2 separate regions of the Homo sapiens genome follow, and region 1 is linked to region 2. Evidence: promoter capture Hi-C in human tissues and cell types (Jung and others, 2019). All regions are on one chromosome and are shown on one strand. Each heading gives the region's core, a stretch centred on a gene start or on the middle of the fragment in contact. The rest is flanking DNA. Distances are from core to core; before and after follow the strand shown.

Region 1 (5,951 bases), core at 997-3,496, 320 kb after region 2:
TAATTAAATTTAATTATACATTAAATAAGGCCTCTGACTACCTGTTTGTGTGAATTTCTCTGTGTCAGCTTCAAGTTCAGCATTCCATGTAGAAATTGGCCCCATGTACTTAAAGTACAGTTTAAAAATATGTTATGTGCTTTCTTGGTAAATACATTAGTAATTGATTTGGGTTTCTGGTTCAAGATGACTTTCAACAGATTAGCATATTAATTCATTTATTTTTCTAGCTGTATCCAGCACGTAATTGGAACTCAATTTTTAAAAATGTTGAATGAACAAATGCTGACTTCCACTATCCAAAAAGGGAAGTTTGAAGAGAATAACTTCACTGATTCATTTGGGGAAATACATCTATCTATGTATTTTTTTTTTTTTTTTTGAGACGGGGTCTCGCGCTGTCACCCAGGCTGGAGTGCAATGGCGCGATCTTGGCTCACTGCAACCTCCGCCTCCTGGGTTCCAGCGATTCTCCTGCCTCAGTCTCCTGAGTAGCTGGGATTACAAGCGCGTGCTACCACGCCCGGCTAATTTTTGTATTTTTAGTAGAGATGGGGTTTTACCATGTTGGTCAGGCTGGTCTCAAACTCCTGACCTTGAGATCCACCCGCCTCAGCCTCTCAAAGTGCTCGGATTACAGGCGTGAGCCACTGCGCCCGGCCTATCTATGTATTCTTAGATCATTTTTAAAGATTCTAAATTCCAAAGTGTTTCTGAAAATTATCATAATTATCTTTGTATTGTCACAGGGGAAATCAAATAAGCTTTAATTTTCCCTACATTCTTTAGCTAAAAACAATTATATAGAATGATTTTAGTTCTCAGAGGTGGGGACATATTTTTTAGCTATCTTTTTTATCATATTTCTTTTGTTTTCTTTTGATTGTCCTAATGTTCTTCTTGAAATATTTTTATTATTAAATATAACATATATACAGAAAATGTCATAAAACATGAATGTGTAGTTTAATAGTAGAAAGTGAATACCCAATATCCACAATAAAGATCAAGAAATAGAACATTAGGCTGGAAGTGGTGGCTCATCCCTGTAATCCCAGTACTTTGGGAGGCCAAGGTGGGAGGATTGCTTGAGCCCAGGAGTTTGAGACCAGCCTGGGCAACATGGCAAAACCCTGTCTCTACCAAAAAAACACACAAATTAGAGAGGCATTGTGGTGCATGCCTGTAGTGCCAGGTACTTAGGAGGCTGAGGTGGGAGGATCACTTGAGCCTGGGAGGTGGAGGTTGCAGTGAGCTGAGATTGGGCCACTGCTGCACTCCAGCCTGGGCGATGGAGCGAGACCCTGTCTCAAAAAAAAAAAAAAAAAAGAACATTACCAACACCCCAGGACCCCCTTCTTTTGTCTCTTCTCATCATAATGCCTTCATTCTTTCCTAGGGAAAATCACTACCCTCATTTTTGTGATAATCAATTCTTTGCTTTTCTTTATAATTTTATCACTGTGTATGCACCTCTAAACAATATAACTACTTTTGCTTATTTTTAAAATGTAGATGAAATCATGCTACATGTGTATGTATTCTTTGTGTCTTGCTGCTTTTACTCAATATTATGTTTCTTAGAATCATCCATGTTGCCACATGGAACTGCAGTTCATTCATCTTCATTGCTGTATGTGGAAATATACTATGATTTATCCATTTTAATGTAGATTGACATTTGTGTTTTTTTCAGTTTTGGGTAATTGTGAACAAGATTGTTATTAATAGTCTTTTGGCTGCTATGATCTGACTTTTTTTTCATGTATCCTGTTATATATGATTATTTAAAGATTATATGATTAAGAACAAAAAAAATCCAAAAAGTTCTATAGATAAATTATTATAATTAGTAAGAGAGTGCAGCAAGGTTGTTAAAGTCAATATACAAAAATTAATTATAGCTGGGCACAGTGGTTCATGCCTATAATCCCAGCATTTTGGGTGGCAGAGCCGGTTGGATTGGTTGAGCTCAGAAGTTCAAGACCAACCTGGGCAACATAGCAAGACCCCATCTCTATAAAAGATTGTTTTAATTAACTATATTTCTATACATAAGCAACAAACTAAAAATGAAATTTAAAAAGATGAGAAAGGGAAACTTTGTCATCGATAGTTCTTTGAAATGTAAATTAATATTTAAAAATCAACAGATCCCTAAGACTAAAATTTGACAAAAGACAAGGAGATCTTTTGGGAAAAATTACAAAGCTGTAGATTATTTTAGATTTTCTATATACACAATCATTGGCACACAATGACAGTTTTCTTTCTTCCATTGCAATGCCTTTTATTTATTTGTCTTACCTCATTACTACCTTCACTATAATGCTGAATAGAAGTGATGATAGCATGCTCCTTGTCTTACATGGAAAGCTTTCAACATATCACCATGAAGAATGATGTTTGCTCTCTCTTTTTGTAAATATATTTTGTCAGATTATTCCTATCATCTATTCTTACTCAGTCTTTATCATGCACAAATGCTGGGTTTTAAACAGAGGCTTTTTTGCGTCTATTGGGATGATCATATCATTTTTCTCATTTACTTTTTTAATGTGACGAATTACGTGATTGATATTCTAATGTTATATCAACCTTATGTTCTTGGGATAAACTCAACTTGGTCATGCTGTTTTTTTTTGTATATTATTAGTTTCAATTTCTCTATATTTTATTTAGAATTTTTACAAGTTTATGGGTGAGATTATCCTATAATTTTTTTCTTATTACACCTTTATCTGGTTTCACTTTCAAAGGTCGTGCTAACCTCGTAAAATTAATTGAGGAGGCCAGGTGCCGTGGCTCACGCCTGTAATCCCAGCACTTTGGGAGGCCGAGGCGGGCAGAAGTTCGAGACCAGCATGACCAACATGGAGAAACCCTGTCTCTACTAAAAATACAAAACTAGCCAGGCATGGTGGCACATGCCTGTAATCCCAGCTACTCAGGAGGCTGAGGCAGGAGAATCGCTTGAACCCGGGAGGCGGAGGTTGCAGCGAGCCAAGATCATGCCATTGCACTCCAGCCTGGGCAACAAGAGTGAAACTCCATCTAAAAAAAAAAAAAAAATTAGTTGAGGAGTGTATCCTGTTATATATGTTCTTCTGTTCTTAAAATAATTTGTTTAAGATTGAAATTCTTGGCTGGGCGCGGTGGCTCACACCTGTAATCCCAGCACTTCAGGAGGCCGAGGCAGGTGGATCACTTGAGCCCAGGAGTTTGAGACCATCTTGGGCAACATGGCAAGACCCCATCTCTACAAAAAAAAAAAAAAAGATTGAAATTCTTGGTCTTTGCATGTTTGATGGAGCTCATCAGTGAAATCATCTGACCCTCTTACTTGTGGGAAGATATTTGATTACCAATTACATTTCCTTAATGATTATAGACTATTTAGGTTTCTAAAATTTCTTTAGTATTGGTTAGATACATTTTTCTAGGAATTTGTCCACTTTATCAAACTTATTAGCATAAAGCTATTCATTATGTCCTCCTATAACCCTTTTCACGTTTGAGCATTTGTGATGATGTCCCTTTCTCATTCCTTATATTGGTTCTTTGTTCTCAATTGTTCTCACTTCCTAATCTGAGTCCTGGGGATAAGTATAAGTAGCCAGTAGAGAAAGAAGGCAGGAGTATTGGAGGCAGAGAAGCAGCATGAGCAAATGCACTAAAGTGAATATATTTGGTATTGTTTCCGTGAAAATCTTGAGGCGAAGAACAATTTCTAATGAGGCTAACAATTAAGTAATGACAGGTCTTAAAGACAGTTTAAATTTTACCTTATAAGAGATTCAGACAACCAAAGAATTTTAACCAAGGAGAAATGTAGTCATATTTTCATTTTTAAGAATTATTCGTTAGGTACTAAACACACATATGCTAGGCATTGATGAATAATATCAACAAGACAGGTTCTCTACCCTTGGGAAGCTTACAATATAGTGGGAGAGGCAGTCATAGAAACAAATTGTAATAGAGTGCAATAAATGCCAATAAAGAAACAAAGTTTATGAGGGCAGATAGCTTACTTTGAGACAGAAGCTTGAGTTTTTTGGTGTAACTTTTGATTAGTTCCACTCAGCATCTCTAAGCATTCTCAGGCTTACATGATAGGCAAACATCTAGATCTCTTGGGAGCTGTTAAAATAGGATGGCCTGGGCCAGGTACGGTGGCTCACGCCTGTAATTCCAGCACTTTGGGAGGCCAAGGCGGGCGGATCGTGAGGTCAAGAGATCAAGACCATCCTGGCCAACATGGTGAAACCCCATCTCTAAAAATACAAAAATTAGCTGGGCGTGGTGGTGTGCACCTGTAGTCCTAGCTACTCGGGAAGCTGAAGCAGGAGAATCGCTTGAACCTGGGAGACAGAGGTTGCAGTGAGCCAAGATCGCACCACTGCGCTCCAGCCTGGTGACATACCGAGACTCTGTCTCAAAAAAAAAAAAAAAATAGGATGGCCTGGACAAGCTTTAGTACCCAATCTGACTCCTTTCTGGATTTGTTTCCCTCGACTTGTATTTTATATTTCAACAGAGCACACATAATTCAGTTTGAAAACCAGTGGTTTCTCTTTCCTTCCCTATAGGTGTAAAGAATATCCAGCTGGTGGCTACAGTTCCCCCTCTGGTTTTGCTGCCATGCATCCTGGGCGAACTACTGGTAAAGGGCCCTCTACTCACACTCAGATTGACCAGCAACCTCCACGGCTTCTCATTGTGCACATTGCTCTACCGTCCTGGGCTGACATCTGCACCAACCTCTGTGAGGCTCTGCAGAACTTCTTCTCTCTAGCCTGCAGCTTGATGGGCCCCAGCCGCATGTCCCTGTTCAGTTTATACATGGTACAAGATCAGCATGAGTGCATCCTCCCTTTTGTGGTAAGTATATCTATATTTATTCATTTTACCCTGAAAGCAAATACAGTGGTAAGGTTTCTGGAATAGAGATCACAGTTATTAATACTTATAACAATAACCGCACTACTTCTCCACACACAGTAGCCCCCGAGTAACACCATGAGAGCCAGAGGGCATCCTGCATATATAGGGGTGTGTACTGTTGAAGAGAAAATCCAAAATTATTAATCTGGGAGTATAAATAGGCTACAAGCTCCACTCCAGAGAGAGGGAGAGAAACCTTGGCATTGACAGATGTTTGAAATGTAAACAACTGACTCCTTTTATGCCCTTTGAAATGTAAACACACAAGGAGGGAAGCCTCTAAATCTCTTCTGAGGTCTCTGACTATTCAATCATCTTTTAACTTCCAAGACTTGCCCTTTAACCCAGGTACCAGTTTTCTTTGCTCAGAAAGCCCTAACTATGCAAAAACATGAAAATATTTTTTCTACATTCCACATAGACTCAGGTGAAACTGCCCCCTAGGGTTATGGAAGGCAATGGCTGGGCCAGGGGCAGTGTCTTTACAAAGCTCCTTCATACATAAACAATTATCTATGCTCCTCCTCAAAATTTCAATCTTCCCTTTCTCCCTTGTATAAAATTCAGAATCATAGTGAAGAGAAAGACTTCCAGAGGTTCTATGCATCTCCTTCCTTGAGGTAGCCTTGCTGCTAATATACGTTATCAAATGGATATAAGTCTTATTTAAGATTTCCAAAAGAGGAAATTTCATAAATCCATTGCTGAATTATGAATGTAATATATGACTGAAATCTATTTTTTTATTAATGCCTTAGTTTCCCTCATTGGAAGTGGAAAGATAACATCTCTGTTGATACTATAAAGAATGAAAATAATATATATTACTTCATGCTTCTTGAGTTAGAACATACCCTGGTTGCTTTGACAGAACCTTAGGCTTATAACAACTCATGGTTTATTTCTTGACAAAAGTCACACAGGGAAAGTTTTGAGTATAAATGCTCCAGTGCTAAGTATGGGGATTTTGTCTGTGCATTGTTACTTAGGCTGGGTTGGGGATG
Region 2 (6,265 bases), core at 1,681-4,180:
AAATACAAATCTGATCATATCACTCATGTCTTTGAAAAGCTGGTAATTAAAAATGAAGAGGTAAAGTAGGCTCCAAACATTTTTGACTGCAGAACTTACAGAAAGTCTGTCACAAGGAGTGCCTGCCTTAGGTAGGACTAACAAAAGTTAATTTTAAGAAAAATGAGTAGGTGGAAAGAGAGGCTGAAGAAAAATCTGCAAATTAAAAGAATGCTCAATAGTCTAGACATAGAGTTGGCCATGGTAGTCTATCTATCTAATAAGACATTTAAAAAATATCTATCAAAAGGACCAGGGGCCTAGGTTGACAGGGAGATGCAGAACAAAGGAGTAAAAAAGAGTGGAATAAATCAAGATATTTCTAAAGGTAATAAGGCTTGAAGGAGGTAATGAGAACACCCTGGGAGAATAAGGATACATGGCTTTTGCTAAGCTATTCAATCAAAATACATGTGTCGCTCAACAACAAGGATACATCCTGAGAAATGCATCACATCTTCAGGCGATTTCACCACTGTGTGAACACCATAGAGGGTACTTACACAAAGCTAGATGGTATAGCCTACTACACACTTAGTCTACAGGGTATACCTATTGTTGTCAGGTTACAAACCTGAACAGCATGTTACTGTACTGAATACTGTAGGCAACTGTAACATGAGGATAAGTGTATTTAAACAAATCTAAACATAGAAAAGGTAATGTATTTCATTAGGATGTTATGACCACTACCTCACTGGGCAAAAGGAATTTTTCAGCTCCATTATAATCTGATGGGACCACCCTCATGTGAGCAGTCCATGGCTGACCAAAAAGTTATTACGCAGCACATGACTACATACGTGTAGTGAAGAGTAAGCTGATCAGACTGAAGAATTAAGTAGCAGAAATCGCTCTGAGGCTAGGTAGCTAAAATTAGGTATTTCAAATATTTTCTTTTTTAATGACAAAATTTAGTTAGTACACAAGTTAATCCATGACTCCTAAAAATACAGACAAGTACAAGTCTTATTGCAGCAAAATAATCACTTCACACAGATTGTTGAAGAAAAAAGAACAAGCGGTGACCCTTTAAATGTTAACAATTGTTTCTGATCTGTAACATGATGAGGGGGGGCAAGCCTGACATTTAGGGATGGCGATCAAAGTAGGAATCGAACTTTCGAATTCATCTAACTCCACTGGGATCTTTATATTCCCTCCTATTTCTTTATGGTTAGCAATTTTCAGGTAGAAATTTTAATTCCCCAAGGGAGAAAACTGAACCTCACTAGGTTTAGCAAGTTACTTTTTTCTATCCTAATAGCAAGTGCGGAGAATTATCCCTACACAAACAAGAAGCAGGCATCCGTTTTATGAGATTTTGAATTTCACATCAACATGCAAAAGACAGGCGGAAATGATTGCCCACTGAGAGGGAACTCACCTTCCAGAAAAGCAAATTCATCCACAGCTTCTATTGCATTATCTGAAACACAAGGAAAAGAGACACCTGACTAACTTCAGCCATGCTGACCTCAGTCAGAAAACAGCACAATCTGCAGTGAAGGGCATGAGGCTTTGGGCAAATGAGGGCATTTATAAGATGCGTCCCTTGCTGCCTTGAGATCCATATCTACTCTACCAGCAACTCTTATATATATTAGCTGTCTCCCTAGAAGAGTTAAGAAAAGCATAGGCAAATACCATTCAACGCGGGGGTTGGGGGCCTCCTAAATTACCCCTAAATTATTTATTCGCTTTGCTCTTAAAGTTGTCAGAGAAGAACGTGGCAATAGACGCAGGGCGCATGAGAATACGGTATACGAAATCTTACCCAGGTGAGGGTTCCCAGCCAGACAAGAGTCAGAAATCAAATCCCCAGTTGCTAGGTGAAAAAGAAATATCTTTTTCTGGTGCAATTTGGCAGAAGGTATGAAGGGATCCAGTCCGCTACGGCAACCCCAGACACCTTCACACACTGCCCCGCCACCCCAAGCAGACAGCCTCTACAGGTAGGGCTTCCTGGCACTGTGGCCAACAGAAACCATCCTGGGGAGAGACGCTGTGGCACCTCTCAGATCAGAGTGACGTCTTCTCAACCTGCACAAGGGGAAACCAGCCCAGCCCTCCCTTGTCTGTCCCCAGACACTGCAGTGCCACTCTACCCAAGTCTCTCCTCTGAAGGGTTTTCCTTTTTCCCTGCTGAGCGCAACAGTAGGCATCTTTTGCAATGGTCTCCACAAACAGTTCCTGTGAAGTAAAAAAGCAAAGTTTTAGTAATGGGTTCTAACACACTGAGGAGGTGAGGGCTCCGGTTTGTGGGTGGGGGCAGAAAGGGAGAAGAAAGGCTCGGGGCAAGAAAATGTTCTGGAAGCTAAGATTGTCCTGGACTTCATGAAGATCCATTCCGCTACCCTCTTCCCAGTATTCTCCCTCATTCACTAAAGACTCCTACAAGTTCTGTACGAGGCCCTGGAGATACAAATTAAAGTCACTCACTATCCAGGTCCTCAACAAGAGGGAGGAGTGTTAACAAAACTCGCACAGGTCCCCGGCCCCTTTCCTCCGCCTTCCGGGTCCACGCCCACATCTCAAAACCCGGGCCACGCCGCCCTAAGCCCCGCCCGCGGGAGGCCCCGAGGCCCCGCCCCACACTCCACCTCCCCCACTCCCGCATGCCCTCGCGCTGCAGGCGCACCGCGGCTCGTGCCAGAATGAAGATGGCTTCCTGTCCCGCTAGCGTCACGTCGGGATCTGCCTTCACCAAGGCCTTCACTCGCGCCAGAGGCAACCTCGAGAGACGAGCCCCAGGCACACTCGTTGGGGCCTGGGGCTGCGAGGCCGCTGCCTCCCCAGCAGGTCCCTCCTCCTCTCGGGGCGTCCCGCTTCCTGCCGCCGCCGCCGCCGCCATCCCGGCCTTGAGCGTGCTGCGCGCGGCCGCCGACTGTGCGCGCGCATGCGGCGCAGGCCCTTTCCCGCGCGGGCTGGAGGCCACACCCTGTGTAGGCGCGCGGCTCCGCCCCTACGCGGCAGTGCGCTGCCAGGAAACCGGGTGGGCGGGGGTCGGGCTCCGGCTCTTCCCACGCGCCTAGCCACCCGTGGGCTGTCGTGCACTTGGTTGACGCTACCGGCGACCCTCTGGCCCCGACGGGCCTGTGGAGCCCAGGCACCTCCCATTGGTGCCTGTGCCTGGCTGGTGAGGGGAGAAATCTAGACCAGGCTCGCAAGAGAGTCTCCGTCAAAACAGAGTGTGCATATTCCAAGGCTAACGAGGGCACGTGTCCGAGGGAGGCCCGGCCCTGGAGGGCCCAGCATCGTGGAAGAGGGTGCCAAGGAGGCAGCGAAATCTGGACCAAATTCAAGGATAACCAGTTATAGATGCTCTTGAAGGAGGGGTAGGGCTTTTGGCAGGCAGAAATGAAGAAATTCAGCCCAGCCAGAGGAAACAAGAAAAAGTCATGGAGGCTAGAAAAGATGAAATTGTGGTGGTGAGGCATCCACGTTTGTTCAAAAAGAGGTTGCATCACAGCTTTGGTTCTCAAATTTGACCTCAAGATCCCTTTACGGTCTTAAAGATTGTTAAAGAGCCCAGGGAGCTTTTGTTTCTGTCAGTTATATCAATACTTACTATATTAGAATTAAAGTTTTAAAATATTGATTTAAAATTACTAATGCGTTACCAGCTAACAAACAACATTTTTATGACAAGTAATTTTTTTTAAATCTAGTAAGAAAAGTCTCTAATGTCTGATTTCATGTGAGAACTGGATTCTCTAGCTGCTTCTGTTGCTAACGTTAGCACTTCTCAGGTAGCTCTTAAAAAACTACTACATCTTGAGAGAATGTGAATGAAAAAGGCAACCTCATAGTAGTATTAAGAAAATAATTTTGGCCTCATGGACTCCTGAAAAGGGTCTCCAGAAAATTCCCACCCCCATGAATCCCCACACCACACTTGGAGGTCTGATAGCGTAGAGGAACAGTTAATATTTAAAATAGGTTTAATCTAAGTCAATCATAATAATAGTGAACACCTTTAAACATTTACTATGTGCATGATTCAAAGTGTTTTAGATTTATGTAAATCATAACTTCTGTAATTTTCACAATACCCTATTGAGGTAAATATTATAACCTTCTTTTTCAAACCTTATTTGAAAAAATTGAGGTGCAGAGTGGTTACTGAGTCGCATACACAGGGCAGAATGTGGTGAAGCCAAGATGAAGCTGAATTAAACACATCTGAAATCACTCAGTTCCAAAATTATGTAGTAAACTCTGACTGGTGTAGGAGTGGAAAGGTGTGAAACCTTTCTTTACCCATTTTAAGGGTCACAGCTGACACTCCTATAACACACACAAAAAGCCTAACAAGTCTAATCAAAGTTTTACATGACATGAGAGTCCAAAAATGCAGACCATGAGACCTAGAGGAAACTATTTTTATGCTTAGGTTATATGAAGAAGGGATCGCTGTGTAGAAATGTGATTAGAGGCCTGGTACGGTGGGTCACACTTGTAATCCCAACACTTTGGGAAGCCAAGGCAGGAGGACCGCCTGAGCCCAGGAGTTTGAGACCAGCCTGGGCAACAGATGGAGACCCCATTTCTACACACACACACACACACACACACACACACACACACACACACACAAATTAGCTGGGTATTGTGATCCTATAGTCCTAGCTACTTGGGAGGCTGAGGTGGGAGAGTTGCTTGAGCCCAGGAGTTCAAGGTTACAGTGAGCAATGATTGCACCACTGCACTCCAGCCTGGGCGACAGAGAGAGACCCTGTGTCTTAAAAAGAAAAAGAAATGGGATTGGACAAAAAGGGAATGATAATAGTCTAATGGTAATAGACTGAATGGGGAAACCCAGCAAGGCCTGTCTGTTCATATTCTTCTTGGCCTCCCTGTGTAGCATTCCTTCTGGTATTAGGGCAGGACCCTTCTGGAATGAGGGTCTTCAAGGGAGAAGGCAGAAAATAACCTTTCTAGGTTTTACGACTTGCTTGGAGGAAGGAGAATTCTAGTTTCTATGACCTGCGTTGGGAAAGAGGAATTCTGGTTTCCATGACTCACTGCGAAGAGTGGTGATGTTACAGTGGGTAGCTAGTCAGACACGAACAGGGCAGGATAGGGCCCCCACGCTCCACCAGGAATGTCAGAAGATCATCAGGTGATGGTCAGACAGTGGTCACACCGCCTCTCTAAAATAATAATTGCTCATAGCCAGCGCCAGGGAAAGGCAGTTTCCCTATAGATAGAAAAACCCTGAAACTGATGATCAGGAGCTTCCTGATGAGATCTCAGGAGTTGGGCGAGCGGGCTCACGCATGCACACTAAGAGGCAAAATGGTGGAATTTAACTGATATATGACCTTCTGGGGGCATTCTACTGAAAAAGGGAAGAACGCCTCAGGTGAGCATGCTTACAACTTCAATAAATACACTGCACTTGCTCCCCTCCCCAGCGCTAGCAGGCTACTGTGCATTTCGACAACCCACCCCAAGGGAAGAATCAGGGTAGAAGGGATGCAAGACCCCAGAAGTATGCCAACACATAAAAACCCAAGTCAAAAGGTCAAACCTTGCACTTGTCCTTCAAGTCACCCACTTGGGCCTCTTCTCAGTGTACTTTCCTTCCTTTCGTTCTTGCTCTAAAGCTTTTTAAGAAATTTTCACTCCTGCTTTAAAACTTGCCTCAGTCTCTTCTTTTGCCTTATGCCCCTCAGTCGACATCTTCTGAGGAGACAAGAATCGAGGTTGCTGCAATTTGCTGCCAGTAACTGTAATAACTTCTACTGCTTACAGTGGAAAACAGGACAGGAGAAGTTCAGAAAGACCTTGCTTCTGAGGCCTTTCCAATTTTCTTCAGTTCAAAGTACTCAGCATTCCAAAGTACCATACTTTGGGGTATCATGTAATGAGCCCCAACCCTGAATTAGCACAGAGACACTCCACTATAGCAGAATAAGAGTCTTGGCCCAGAATTAAAATCTGCAGAAGAGGATATGAGTTGCTGAAAATTGAACCAGAGCAGCCATTAGGGCCTCAGTCCTGGGTTCTTTTCAGATTACATTTATGGACACTCTCACTCATGGAAAGCTCCACACAAAATTCATAAAAGCATGACCAGATTCTTGTGTCACAGTGCACAAGAACACCTCACAAGAGCTATACTCCAGCAATCGCAAAGTAGCTAAGTACTAAATTGACCTAAATTCTGAATTAACATAAGACAGTTGACAATGGTGGGGGTGTTACTGGACCCCACCAC

The links. The method cuts DNA at HindIII sites, captures the fragments that hold promoters and counts their contacts. A contact is called where the count stands out against the background at its distance.
Region 1: a contact is called between a fragment that was not itself captured here and the fragment with the promoter of POLE4 in region 2, in 1 of the 25 tissues and cell types used here (H1 embryonic stem cells).

What each region holds. Positions count from the first base shown.
Region 1 is chr2:74,638,969-74,644,919 of GRCh38, reverse strand. It overlaps M1AP (meiosis 1 associated protein), which reads left to right. Exons shown (of 11, transcript NM_001321739.2): 2 at 4,593-4,884. The coding sequence starts at 4,645. Among named protein-coding and RNA genes, the nearest start is that of M1AP, 6.4 kb to the left of the region's middle. The HindIII fragment of the contact is 6,169 bases long and covers 1-5,330 here.
Region 2 is chr2:74,955,308-74,961,572 of GRCh38, reverse strand. POLE4 (DNA polymerase epsilon 4, accessory subunit) reads right to left here and starts at 2,930. Exons shown (of 4, transcript NM_019896.4): 1 at 2,681-2,930; 2 at 2,148-2,232; 3 at 1,427-1,468. The coding sequence starts at 2,893. LOC105374809 (a long non-coding RNA gene) reads left to right here and starts at 2,694. Exons shown (of 5, transcript NR_187884.1): 1 at 2,694-2,841. RefSeq lists silencers at 2,482-2,721, 2,792-3,051 and enhancers at 2,343-2,843, 2,844-3,344. The HindIII fragment of the contact is 11,068 bases long and covers 1-6,265 here.